Regions from separate parts of the Homo sapiens genome. Here region 2 is linked to region 1. Evidence: promoter capture Hi-C in human tissues and cell types (Jung and others, 2019). All regions are on one chromosome and are shown on one strand. Each heading gives the region's core, a stretch centred on a gene start or on the middle of the fragment in contact. The rest is flanking DNA. Distances are from core to core; before and after follow the strand shown.

The links. The method cuts DNA at HindIII sites, captures the fragments that hold promoters and counts their contacts. A contact is called where the count stands out against the background at its distance.
Region 2: a fragment that was not itself captured here is called in contact with the fragment with the promoter of ARHGAP11A in region 1 in 1 of the 25 tissues and cell types used here (lymphoblastoid cells).

The regions. Positions count from the first base shown.
Region 1 is chr15:32,612,184-32,617,921 of GRCh38, reverse strand. It overlaps ARHGAP11A (Rho GTPase activating protein 11A), which reads right to left and starts at 2,418. Exons shown (of 12, transcript NM_014783.6): 1 at 1,582-2,418. The coding sequence starts at 1,710. ARHGAP11A-SCG5 (ARHGAP11A-SCG5 readthrough) reads right to left here and starts at 2,446. Exons shown (of 14, transcript NM_001368319.1): 1 at 1,582-2,446. The coding sequence starts at 1,710. It overlaps ARHGAP11A-DT (ARHGAP11A divergent transcript), which reads left to right and starts at 3,176. Exons shown (of 3, transcript NR_135833.1): 1 at 3,176-3,485. The HindIII fragment of the contact is 9,261 bases long and covers 1-4,618 here.
Region 2 is chr15:32,953,580-32,960,184 of GRCh38, reverse strand. All of the region lies in intron 9 of FMN1 (formin 1), which reads left to right. Among named protein-coding and RNA genes, the nearest start is that of FMN1, 240 kb to the left of the region's middle. The HindIII fragment of the contact is 8,182 bases long and covers 1-6,605 here.

The DNA of each region.
Region 1 (5,738 bases), core at 1,169-3,668:
CGTTCCCACTTTATATATATAAAACTGAAGCTTAGGGAAATCAAACAAGCAGCCCAAGTTTACAGATGTAGTAGGGGTGGAACAGCACTCAAACTCAGGTCTATCTGACTCTGAAAACAGGCAACAGTTTTTCTTGTTAAGCGGTGAAAAGGCCGAGTGCAGTGGCTCACGCCTGCCATCCCACCACTTTGGGAGGCCGAGGCGGGCGGATCACGAGGGCAGGAGATCGAGACCATCCTGGCTAACACGGTGAAATCCCGTCTCTACTAAAAAATACAAAAAATTAGCCAGGTGTGGTGGCGGGCGCCTGTAGTCCCAGCTACTCGGGAAGCTGAGGCAGGAGAATGGCGTGAACCCGGGAGGCAGAGCTTGCAGTGAGCCAAGATCGCGCCACTGCACTCCAGCCTGGGCGACAGAGGGAGACTCCATCTCAAAAAAAAAAAAAAAAAAGGAAAAGAAAAGAAAAGGGGTGAAAAAAAGTCCATATACAAACTCTTCCATATACTTACAAAATCAGCTACATTTGAGATCTTGGAAAGCCAGTTTTACAATCAGAAAAAAATCACTGTAGCTTTTTAAATGTAAGTACATGTATTGCCATTAATTTGCTACCAACAAAAATAACTTCTCCAAAGTTTATCAGCGATTAAGAGGCACACATATTACTTTTGTTAGTGGTTTTCTTCTCCAAGCACTTTTTTTAAGAAACCATAAACTATTAAAAGCAACGTATATTAATTTTATTAGCTTGTCTCCAAGTACTAGGAAGTACCATATAAATTAGGCACATAAATTTAAAATAAAATGCTTTACATTCAGCTTATTTTTCACAATGGAATTCCTGATTATGTGGCAGAGCTATTAAAATCTCATTCAAAATCCCTTTATTTCAACCACCAAAACATCAACAACTTCTCAATTATTCCACTCTGGCTTCTCAATTTACTCATACAAAAAAAAATTTACTGTCCCAAAAGTATGACATGGCCAAGCAGCAAATCTGTTTCCCAAATTAGTGAATATGCAGTCATCATTTGAAGCCTATTTCTAATGTTCTGTCATACTTCTTCATCTACAGATTCATGTAGAAAATGCACTGGTCTCCCTTGTCCCTCTACAACCTTACTCTAAAACAAGGGTGGAGGGGTAGAGTTTTTGTCCCTCCCAACGTACTACCTGTTCCAAATACAGTAAGCTGGCAATATCCGGAGACATTTTTAATTGTCACAACTGAGAGATGCTACCAGCATCTAGTGGGTAAAAGACAGACATCCCGCTAAACATCCCACAATTCACAGAACAGCATTTCGTCTTCCCCTAACAAAAATTATCTAATCCAAAATGTCAATAGTGCTGAAGTTGGAAAATCCTGCAACTTTCTCTCAATGATCAAAAATCCTTGGGGGAAAAAAAACAAGAATGTCACTTTTTAAATATCAGCAATCGACCATCTGAACTGAATTACACACCTAACCATTCTTTTTGATACACAGAGTGAACATTTTAGCACGATCTGGTAGTAAGTGATGATAAAGGGTGTGCCCTTTCTTTTAAACCTAAATCCCTTTTCACAGAACTTACCCCTATTTCCGTGGCTGCTGTTTCATGTCTCCTGCGATCGCACTGCCCACGGACACCCTTCACCTTAATACCATAGAAGGCCCGCAGATGCTGCAACAGGGCCAACCTCACCAGCCTCTGATCCCACATTCCGGATACGTCGATAACTCTCTGAGGCAGGATGCAGGTCCTGACCCTCGTTCGCCACCAAGTCTTCCAATTTCCAAACGCTCTCAAATTTGAACTCCGCTCGGCTGCTTTCCGGCCCCGTCTGGCACTTCTGCGGCCCCGACCCCCGGCCACTTCCACGGCTTTTCCTTGATCCTCACTCACATCCACTTACACAGACCCGCTTCTCTTAGCCCTTTGATCCAGCCACACCTCACTCTTCCTTCACTTACACCGACCTTCTTTCTGGTCACCCAATGCTTTCAGCTACTCACATAGACTTCTTTCTGATTCTTTCGGTTTCTCGTCTATTGCCAGATTCTCTCCACTTCTTGCTACTTCCAACGATCCCCCTTCCTCCAAACCTTACTGTCCCCGTCTGGTTCGCTCTGAAATGTGAAGAAAACCCTTCTCGCTCCTCCAGCCCCAGCAGGCTCAACTGGGCGCTCGCCCCCGCCCTAGCCTGGCCGCCGGACCAGCCGGCTGCTCAGGCAACTCTTCCAGTCCCGGTGCCCGCCCGGGCTGGTAGCCGCCGTCACCCCGTCTCACAGGCTGCTCGTTCCCTCCCCCATCAGCCTGCCTCTACCTCCCGGCCTGCACATCCCGGTGCGTTCACTGAAGCCAAGCCGTTAGCCTCATGCTTCCGCCCCCAGCTCCTCCGCAGACACCCAGAGCCACCACGGGGGGGTCACACCCGCAGTTTCAGCCCAGGCTCAAATGGCAGCGCGAAACAGCGCTCCACATCTGATTGGTCCACTCCTCTTTTCAAAATCAGGACCCCGGAGGGTGGCCGAGAGCTGCCTGTCTAGATAAGTGCGGGCGAAGGGGTGTAACGGGCAAACCCAGCAAACATGAAAAGCAGGATGAGTTTCACTTGTTCCTTCAAGGCCAGTTTTTGGGGCGGGGGAATACTGTTTAAAGGTTTTTAAATACACCTGACCTGCGCCTCAGACCATTCACAGTATTTGAGGAAATATAAAAGACAACTTATTCCCGTTCTTTTCCGAGCTTGGCTGTCGCTGAAGGCCCTCTTATGAAGAAACCGTTCTTACGGAAGCCCAGATGAGACAACTTGAGACAGGATTCAGAAACGCTGATTTTAGTAACCTTAACCCTCGGCCCTTGGTGGGAACTTCGGCTCTGTGGGAATTAGTCTTTGGGGGACTGATGGTCATGCTGAAATCTTATTGCGTAGGAAATTAAGTACAACAAAGAAGACCCGTCGTGAGAGGAGAGTGCGGAAGAAATGCGAAGTCTACGGGAGGTGGCAGCTGCAGAAGCTTGGTGTTGGATTTGGCGTTAGGAGACCGGGAGGAGCCCAGCTTCCGGTCCAGACGGTTATCTTGTTGACTTGCACGACTGCAAACGCCCTGAGCTGCTTTTGCAGTCTGAAACATCAGCGATCCCATCAAAATATTCTGTTTCTTGGGATATAAGAAACATCCCAAGGCGGGCTGTAGAGCGAGAGATTTGGACTCGATTTAAATACAGACAAAATAGTATGCATTTACTAACACCACATCTCACCCCCACGAAACTTGGTAAGGGCAGCAACAGAACTTTATCTGCCATATGCACTCCTGTATTCCTATTACCAAATAGTGCCAGGGACTAAGTGAATATTTGTCCAATGAATGAGTTTTAAGTAGGAAACGTTTGCATAGAATCATTTTGTTTCTTTTGGAGTTCAAATCTTCGGATATTTTACCCTTCCCAATCCAAAGAAAAGTCTCTGAGTGAAGAGATGGGAACAAAATGTAAGTTAAATATGTTGCTTTAACAACTGTTTATTGAACTCGTGCTATAGACTATAGAATGATGAGCAAAACCAGGCACAGTTTCGGCCCTGGAAGAGGAAAGGCAGGCATATATTTATCAAGTAAGTACATTAATGGCGGCACTTATCAGTTGAGAGAAGTGCGCTAAGGAAAGGAATATGATTCTATGATAGCGTATAATAAAAGATCCTTGACCGGGGAGGGGAAACGTACCAGTGATTAACTGATCTGAAGAATCAGTATAAATTGACTTTGTAGAAAGTATAGGTGGATGGCTGAGTGGGACCATCATTCAGGAAGCAAATGCCTGCAGAAAAAAACATCAATTTTAACAAGAAACGGTGTATCAGAGATGAAACTGAACCTATTCCTTGTCTTTTCTTCTTGCTTCAGACATAACTTTAAAAAATTGCTTACGCTGTCTTTAGCCACATCTCTTCCCCAAACTCCACACTGTTCGGCGTTTTAGCCGTCTCAAATTTCCTTTTCTTAAAGACCCATGACAATCTTCAGTGTTGTGTCTTTTTCTACGTCGTGATCCTTTTTTAAAGCTGAGCTCTTCTTGTTTTTCGTCTCCTTTCTCTTTTTTTTTTTTTTTTTTTGTGATGGAGTCTCGCTCTGTCGCCCAGGCTGGAGTGCAGTTGCACAATTTCGGCTCACTGCAAACTCCACCTCCCACGTTCAAGCAATTCTCTGCCTCAGCCTCCCAAGCAGCTGGGATTACAGGCGTCTGCCAGCAGGCCCGGCTAATTTTTGTATGTTTAGTAGAGACGGTGTTTCACCATTTTGGCCAGGCTGGTCCTGAACTCCTGACCTCGTGATCCACCCGCCTCGGCCTCCCAAAGTGCTGGGATTACAGGTGTGAGCCACCACATCCGGCCCTTCCTTTCTCTTAAGATGAAAATATTGGTTCTTTTTTCCTACACACAAGGAGGCAATGAAAATATTGGTTCTTTTCATTGCCTTATTATTAATGTTACTATTAATAAATATTAATATTAACATAATGGTTATTTGCTTCATCTACCTATATTCACAGGTATATAAACACAACAATAGCAATAACAGGATAAAGAATAAAAACAGAATAACAATAGAGATATTGCTAACAGATAAATGAAGTTTAACTTTGCATGTACTTCCTTTTTTCTAAAATTGTATCCAACTAAGGATGTAAAATCAAGATACTGTGTTTTAAATGAACTGGGCATAATTATTCTTTTTGGTTATATATGGATGTACTGTAGTTTATTTAGCCAGGCCCTTACTAGTGGATATGTTGGCTATTCCCAGTCTTTTGCTATACAAAAGTTTCCTTGTGCATATATAATATGCTTTTGCCAGTGGGTCTTTAGCATAGATTTCTATAAATGGGATTGTTAGGTCAAAGGGTAAAAGAACATGTTATTTTGTTTAATTCTGCCAAATTCCCCTTCATAGGGGTTGTGCAGTTTTGTATTCACACCAGCAGCATTTCCTGTTTCTCTGCAGCCTCTCCAATAGAATGAATTGTCAAACTCCTAGATGTTTGCTAAATCGATATGTGGGAAATGTTATCAAAGTGTAGTTTTTTTTTTTTTTTTTTTGAGACGGAGTCTCACTCTGTTGCCCAGGCTGGAGTTCAGTGGCTCTATCTTGGCTCACTGCAACTTCTGCCTCCCAGGTTCAAGCGATTCTCCTGCCTCAACCTCCTGAGTAGCTGGGACCACAGGCAATCACCACCACGCCTGGCTAATTTTTGTAATTTTAGTAGAGACAGGGTTTCGCCATGTTGGCCAGGCTGGTCTCGAACTTCTGACCTCAACCTATCCACTCACCTCGGCCTCGCAAAGTGCTGAGTTTACAGGCATGAGCGACTGCGCCCAGCCTCCAGTATAGTTTTGTATTTATCTTTTTGTCAATGAAGTGGAACATTTTTTCAAATGATGCATGCTTACGACAAAGTATTATGAAGCTGTTAAGGAATGTGGAAGATATATGACTATGATGTGAAGTGAAGTGAAAAAGCAAGGCATAAAAGAGTGTATATAGTATGCTGCCTTTGGTATACGGGGTGGTAGAGATACATATACAAATGGATACTTACTTATATTTTCAAAAATAAACAATAGAAAGGTAAACCAAAATCTAATAAAAATGGTAAACAATAGGAGAAGATCAAGAACAGGTGAAGTAGAAAATAGGAATGGAAGCTAGACCTCTCTGAATATATCTTGTTTTATATATAAACTT
Region 2 (6,605 bases), core at 1,990-4,489, 340 kb before region 1:
ACAAATAGTAAGTTCCAGACAAATCCGGGCAAAAAAAGGTCAGCTGATTTACATAGAATGTATTCCCATGCAATTAGATTCATATGAGATGGAGGTAAGCCTGCTTTGTAGCCAGGCTGGCTTTTTAAATGCCATCTATAGAAGCAGAAGACTTGTTTCTACCTGAATGGCAAAAGGAAAATCTGTATATTCCAAAGCCAACTTCAGTTTGCCTCTTTCAGGAAGGCTTGCCTGAACTCACCAGAATCTCCTCTGAATGCTTTCTTATGCAGGATCGTATTAAATTTACTTTTGTTCTTTATTGCTTCTTAGATTGCTATTACTCTTTTTGTTTCTCTCCAGATGCTTGAAAACATGTTGTTTACTCATAGAACTATTCACTTCTGTTTTGGTGAATGAATATTTGTTTTTAAACATCAAAGCATTTGGTCATTTATTATTTCTTTTCTTATAATAGTTTGCCTGTTCAACAAAGGAGTTTAAGGCAGTTAGTACTTGATAACATTTATTTTGTTTCTCTGTCTGAGGGGGAAAATAACACTTCATTTAAACTCTTTAAGTTTTCTGAACAGGGTGGTTGCCATTGCCCCATGGAATCCGTGCACTTGTGTAGTGCTTGCTTTTCTCTGTAAGTGGAGGCAAAAAATTGGGTCTACTGAGCTTTGTGGTAATATGCAGCTTAGAGTTTTCAGTGAGCTTTGTGTCCTACCTTAGAGCTGAGGTTTTAAGTTTTAAAGAAAATAGCAAGCTGAATTGATGCCAGAAAACTCCAAACCTGCCTCCTATAATCTTTGCTCCATGCCTGTGGCCAGATTTCCAACATCAAGATGGATCCCTTGGTCTCTTCTGAGAGTCAGATGTTTGTTTTCTTTCCTCTTGAAAATGAAAGTGGTTTTAGAGGTGGTGAGCAGCTGAGGAGTTTCAGCATTGAAGGCCAACTCCTTCAGCTGGATCATGGAATGGTTCCCATATGAGAAGACCAGGAGGATACTTGCCAGATAGGTCTTTTTATAATGACTGAACAAGAGAAAGTGCTGGGTACATTACTGGATTTCAAAATCCAGAATTCTGAATCTTGGCTATAGGGCTTCAGCCAGCATTGAAACGTGAATATGAATGTCTTTTTTTTTTTTTTTTTTTTGAGACAGTGTTTCACTGTTGTCGCCCAGGCTGGAGTGCAATGGTGTGATCTCGGCTCACTGCAACCCCCACCACCCAGGTTCAAGCCGATTGTCCTGCCTCAGCCTCCCAAGTAGCTACGATTACAGGCACCCACCATCACGCCCAGCTAATTTTTATATTTTTAGTAGAGACGGGCTTTCACCACATTGTCCAGGCCAGTCTCAAACTCCTGACCTCAGGTGATCCACCTGCCTTGGCCTCCCAAAGTGCTGGGATTACAGGCGTGAGCCACTGCACCCAGCCATGAATATCCCTTAAATAGAGCTGGTCTTCATCCCTCAGCACATTTCACGTTTGTATTTCAGAAGTAATGGACAGAATGATCAAGAGTCTGTGGAACTCAGATACTAATTTCTAGCTTCAACTACTAAAATAGTATTTAAATTTCATATCACTGGCACTTGTTTAAGCATGTATGTATGTATGTATGTATGTATGTATGTATGTATGTATATCTTCTCAAACTAGGCAGGGATCCTGTTCTGTAATATCATGTAGTCTAGGAATTAGAAGAAATCTTACCCATCATCTTATTTCTCTCATATGGCACATAAGAAACTAAGACCGAGAAAGATAAAGTGACTTGTAGGGGTTTGTACACTTTTAACTGGGAAGACATTGATGATGATGAACACTTGTTCATCAGCATGTGTCTGCATTTCCCCTTTATTTAAATGGTAACTTGCCACCTTGGTGATAGTATCAACTTTTATTCGGGTGATTTATTTGAAGTTTATGAATGAGAGTAGCCATTATTAAAAACATCAACAAAATATAGCCACACTTCTGCATATCCAAAGTATTTCCTACATTGTGTAATTATCCATGGTTTTCTTCAGAGTCTTCCAATAGGAAGCCAAATCTTTGAGTAAAAAGATGTGCTTTCTATGTAACTCCAGCAAAAGGCATATATAGATTTGGAGCTGGTGTTTTTCTTTGACCTTATCAATTCCATTTAAAATATTAGCTATAATAAAATAAATTTATTACTAATTATTACAAATTTATATTGCATACTTAGATAGGTGCCATTCTCATTTGTGATACTAGACCACTCTGCCACGACAAACATGGCAGTAACCAAATTAAGAACCAGAGCTCAAGATACCAGCTGTCAATGGAACCACCACCACTTGCTACTATCTCTTATTTTTTTCTTTCGTAACATTCAGAAAAAGTCATTTAACCTTCTCACACTGATTTCTTCTCTACGAAATTGGGAATAACACCCCCTTAATATGGTTATTATAAGTATAATATGAAATTATAAGAGTACGTTAAGTATTCTTTGCATTAATCTCTTAGTTTATGAACTAATGTGAAAGCTTTGGAAAGAAATTCTTAAACATCTTTGATTCCCAAGGTTTTTAAGGTCTTAAAGCATTAATGTGTCAATTCCTAAAACTATTTGCAAATGGGAATCTCTAGATTATTCTTGTTTGTTGATATTCATGGAAGTATCCCACAACTTCCGTTAGTGATACATTCGGACATCTAGTAGTACATATCGTGTTTGTATAGTCTCTTTTCACTGAAAGATAAAGAGTTTCCCCTGTCAATATGTCATATTTACACTGTCTCTAAGTGACATTTGTTCCTGAGCAAGGTAGGTCAGCACCTTGACAAGGAGCCAGAAATCCACCTTCATTGTCTGTGATTCTTTCTCCTGGTTCCTGTAAAAAAAAAAAAAAAAAAAAAAAAAAAGAACTGCTCTGATAAACTTTCCAATTGTGTTTTAAACTTGCCCAACGACATTCTGAAAATCAGCATGATCTGCCAATATTCCTCCTTTTTTGAGATGCCATGATCTGACTAAATTATAAATCATCTCTGTTTGTTTCCTCTTCTGTAAGATATGTAAAAGGATTCCTCTCTCCCCGTCTCCCTCTCTGTCTCTGTCTTTTTAATAGATATTTCTTAAGAATTAATGAGATAATGGCTATTCCCCAAACACTTTGGGGGAAGGGGGTTGTGATGGTTCAGCAGATACTAGTCTGTTGAAATTTTGTGGTGCCAAAAGCCTTCAGCATTGATTGTAATTTGGTCACTTTGGCAAGGATCATAGCTGTAATTCTCAAATCCCAGACTTTATGTCTCAGTTTATTGGGGAGGGGAGAAGGGTGGAAGAAGAACATTGTTTGGAAGCCTGAACATAAATTTATAGGGTTTTCATAACCTATTGCTTTCCAAGTTTATATTATTTCAGCTTTGGTGTACAAAGATAATTTCTCTGGGCTCCCTCGGTGTAAGGAATGTGCGTTAGTTTTTTTATATGAGGGTGGTGATAGGTTTGTCTACCCCTTTACGTTTTTCACGTGTTGACAACTGAGCAATGGGGTTAGGGATTATCATCTATAGAAGTGAGTGAAATAACTTGCCCATGTGTTGATTGTACTAATATATGACCTGGGGGCCTAAACTAGCGCTCTGTCCCGATTTCTTGAGTGATATCTGGAATGATCAGGGCTTTCCTGTTCTTCAGTTTAAGGACTCCTGACTGGCCGCATTTACTGAAAGGAAACAGGAGCTCCATGACAGGCACCAGTTTACAAAAATTCCACCTTGTAAATTTTATTTGGAAATGAGACAGCCCCAGAAGTTGTACGTTTATTTTATTTGCTTATTTTTTTAAAAAAAAAAAAGAGTGGTTAGGACTTGTCAAATATGAATATCAATGATTCTTTCAGAATGCTGCATCTGAGTATTATTCTTGGAGTTCAACCATGTTTCTCTTGTTGGCTGTTCAACAGTAACTTGATCTGGATTTGTGTCTCCAGCCAGCTGCATTTAGGATGCTCTTTTCCTACCCCACACCACAAGAGGGCACCTTAGAATGCTGAGATACAAAGATAAAAGTTGCATGGATCCTAGAACCCCCAGAACAGGAACCTGGAAGAGAGTAACTGCCCCCAGCTCTCTCTTTAGTCTTCTCATATCTCTATTGTGGACCATGAGGCCAAATTTCACAGCAAATTACCCACACAGAGTATTGGGAGTCAATTGCATATTAGAAAGACTTGAAGGTATTAGCAGAAAAAAAATCATTAGTAGCCATGGTTCCAGTGCTTAGAATGAATGATTGCAGTATAAAAATATATGGAATATTAGAGTTAGCGTCTTTGGGACTGATTCTGGAATTCCTTTCTCACCACACACACAGACACGTGCGCGCACGCACACACACACACACACGCACACGCACACACATCTTTAAAATCTTCCATATCGGAAGAGAGTGAAAAGCAAAAGTTTATTTGAATATAGATTTGGGGTTATCTGTTTGGAAAACACAAAAAAGTACAGGATATGCTATGAGAGAACCATTCTAAATATTTATGCTTTAAAAAATATTTATCTTCTCGTTGAGGGAAGTTTTGAAGTCTCGCCTATATTTTCCCAAATCTCATTCATTTATCCTCAATCCAGGCCATTTTCTGAGATTCTGTTACGGGGTTGGAGCTAGACAACAGGATGAGGCTGAGCGCCTGTGCTTGGGACCTTGATGGTGATAGTGAGTCCTCTGGCCTTCAGTTCCAAGCTAGAAGTATGTGAAGATGTAACAAGAATAGGGAAAGATCATATATGTATACTTCGGTTGCAAGTCCAGGTCACATGGATGCTTTTGAAGGTGAACTTGTAAGTGCTTTGCAAAATACACACATCTCCCATGTATGTGATAGTCAGAACAGCCCCTGCACATGCCCTCACAGGCACATGCTTAATATGAACAGAGAAGTCTCAATGACCTTGGATTTATTTGATGTCATTCAAGTGGAGATTAAAAAATAAAGATATCACTAGTAGTGCCACTGCTAAATGAGGAATTTTGGTTAAGTGCCTGTCATATATTAACTAATTTGATCAAAAACCCAGTGAGACGGTTCCTATTATTGTTCCTGTTTTATACATGAGAAAACTGGAGTTTAGAGGGGTTGGGCAACTTGCGTAGTACCACATAGTTCTAAAGAGCAAAGGAATGTTTCCAGCAACAACCCCACAGCTTATTTTTTTGTTTGTTTTGAGACAAAAAGTCTCACTCTGTTGCCTAGTCACTGCAACCTCCACCTCTCAGGTTCATCAAGCAATTCTCATGCCTCAGCCTCCAGAGTAGCTGGGACTACAGGCACACCTACCATGCCTGGCTAATTTTTGTATTTTTAGTAGAGATGGGGTTTCACCATGTTGGCCAGGCTAGTCTCCAACTACTGACCTCAAGTGATCCGCCCACCTTGACCTCCCAAAGTGCTGGGATTACAGGCGTGAGCCTCCGTGCCCAGCCTTGTGTTGTTAATTACTTGATAAATGGGCATTCGTCTGCATTTAACTGCAAGTTCTGACTTTAAATTCACTTGGCCAAGACTGAATTTTATTTTTTGGTCATTGTATAGTGAAAAAAGTGCCCAGCTTTGGTGTCAGTAAACATAATTTCTAATTCTGACTCTGACCCTAACCAAATATCGAATCCCGAACAAGTCCTTTAAATTCTCCGATCTCAGGTTTCTCATCTGTCAAAAGATAAACTTTAATTATATGAATTCCAAGGATCTGGTCATGACTTCTTTGCAGATGAAGACACTCAAGATCTGCCAACTTTCATTTTATTTTTAGAAGGCAGATAGATGAGGGTATTACACATTGAGCAATATCTTAGCGCTCAGATCCAGGCCTAATCAGATGGATAGAGCTGTCTCAAACCATCAGTAGCATATTGTATGAGCCATAGGTACATGGGGGTTCAGGAAATAATTGTTCTGATTTTAATAATCCCCCAAATGTAAGGTATATATATTGGAGAGTTATTTTTAAACAAACCAAGTTTTTTATGTAGTGGGGGTATTGAAGTACTGGAAATATGATAGAGAAAACTGCAGTGGAAATTAGCAGCCAGAGATCTCGTCTTGAAGGTAACTATTAGTTGTTGTAGTTGTTGTATGTCCAGTCATGTAACCCCTCTGACCTTAACTTCTATACCTAACATGGCATCTGGAGTGAAAATTTGCAAATATGCTTTCCAGATGCAAAATCTCAGAACTTAGCTGAATGTGGATACGTTCCCACATACATTTTTAAACTGAGTGTGTGTAAGATTGAAACAGTGAATTTAGATTTTTACCTAGTCAATGAGCGGCATGGGATATACTGCAAACCAGACTCAAACCACAATGTTCCCACCTTCCGGTATACAGTATTCTCTCTTTGCAGTTGTCCTTACATAACAGAAATGCATTTGGCGGCAGCAGCCAGTGGTGGAACTGGCCAGCCCCCGTTGTGCTGGGGTGGCCCTCCACCATTTTTTCCTCCGTCTCCTAGCAGAGTTTCCACGGTCGAGAGGCCTGGAGCTCAGGTTACACCAGACAAAACTGTCCACTTACTTCCTAGGATAGTCTGGCTGGACCCCAGTGCTATGGCCACACTTCCAATTT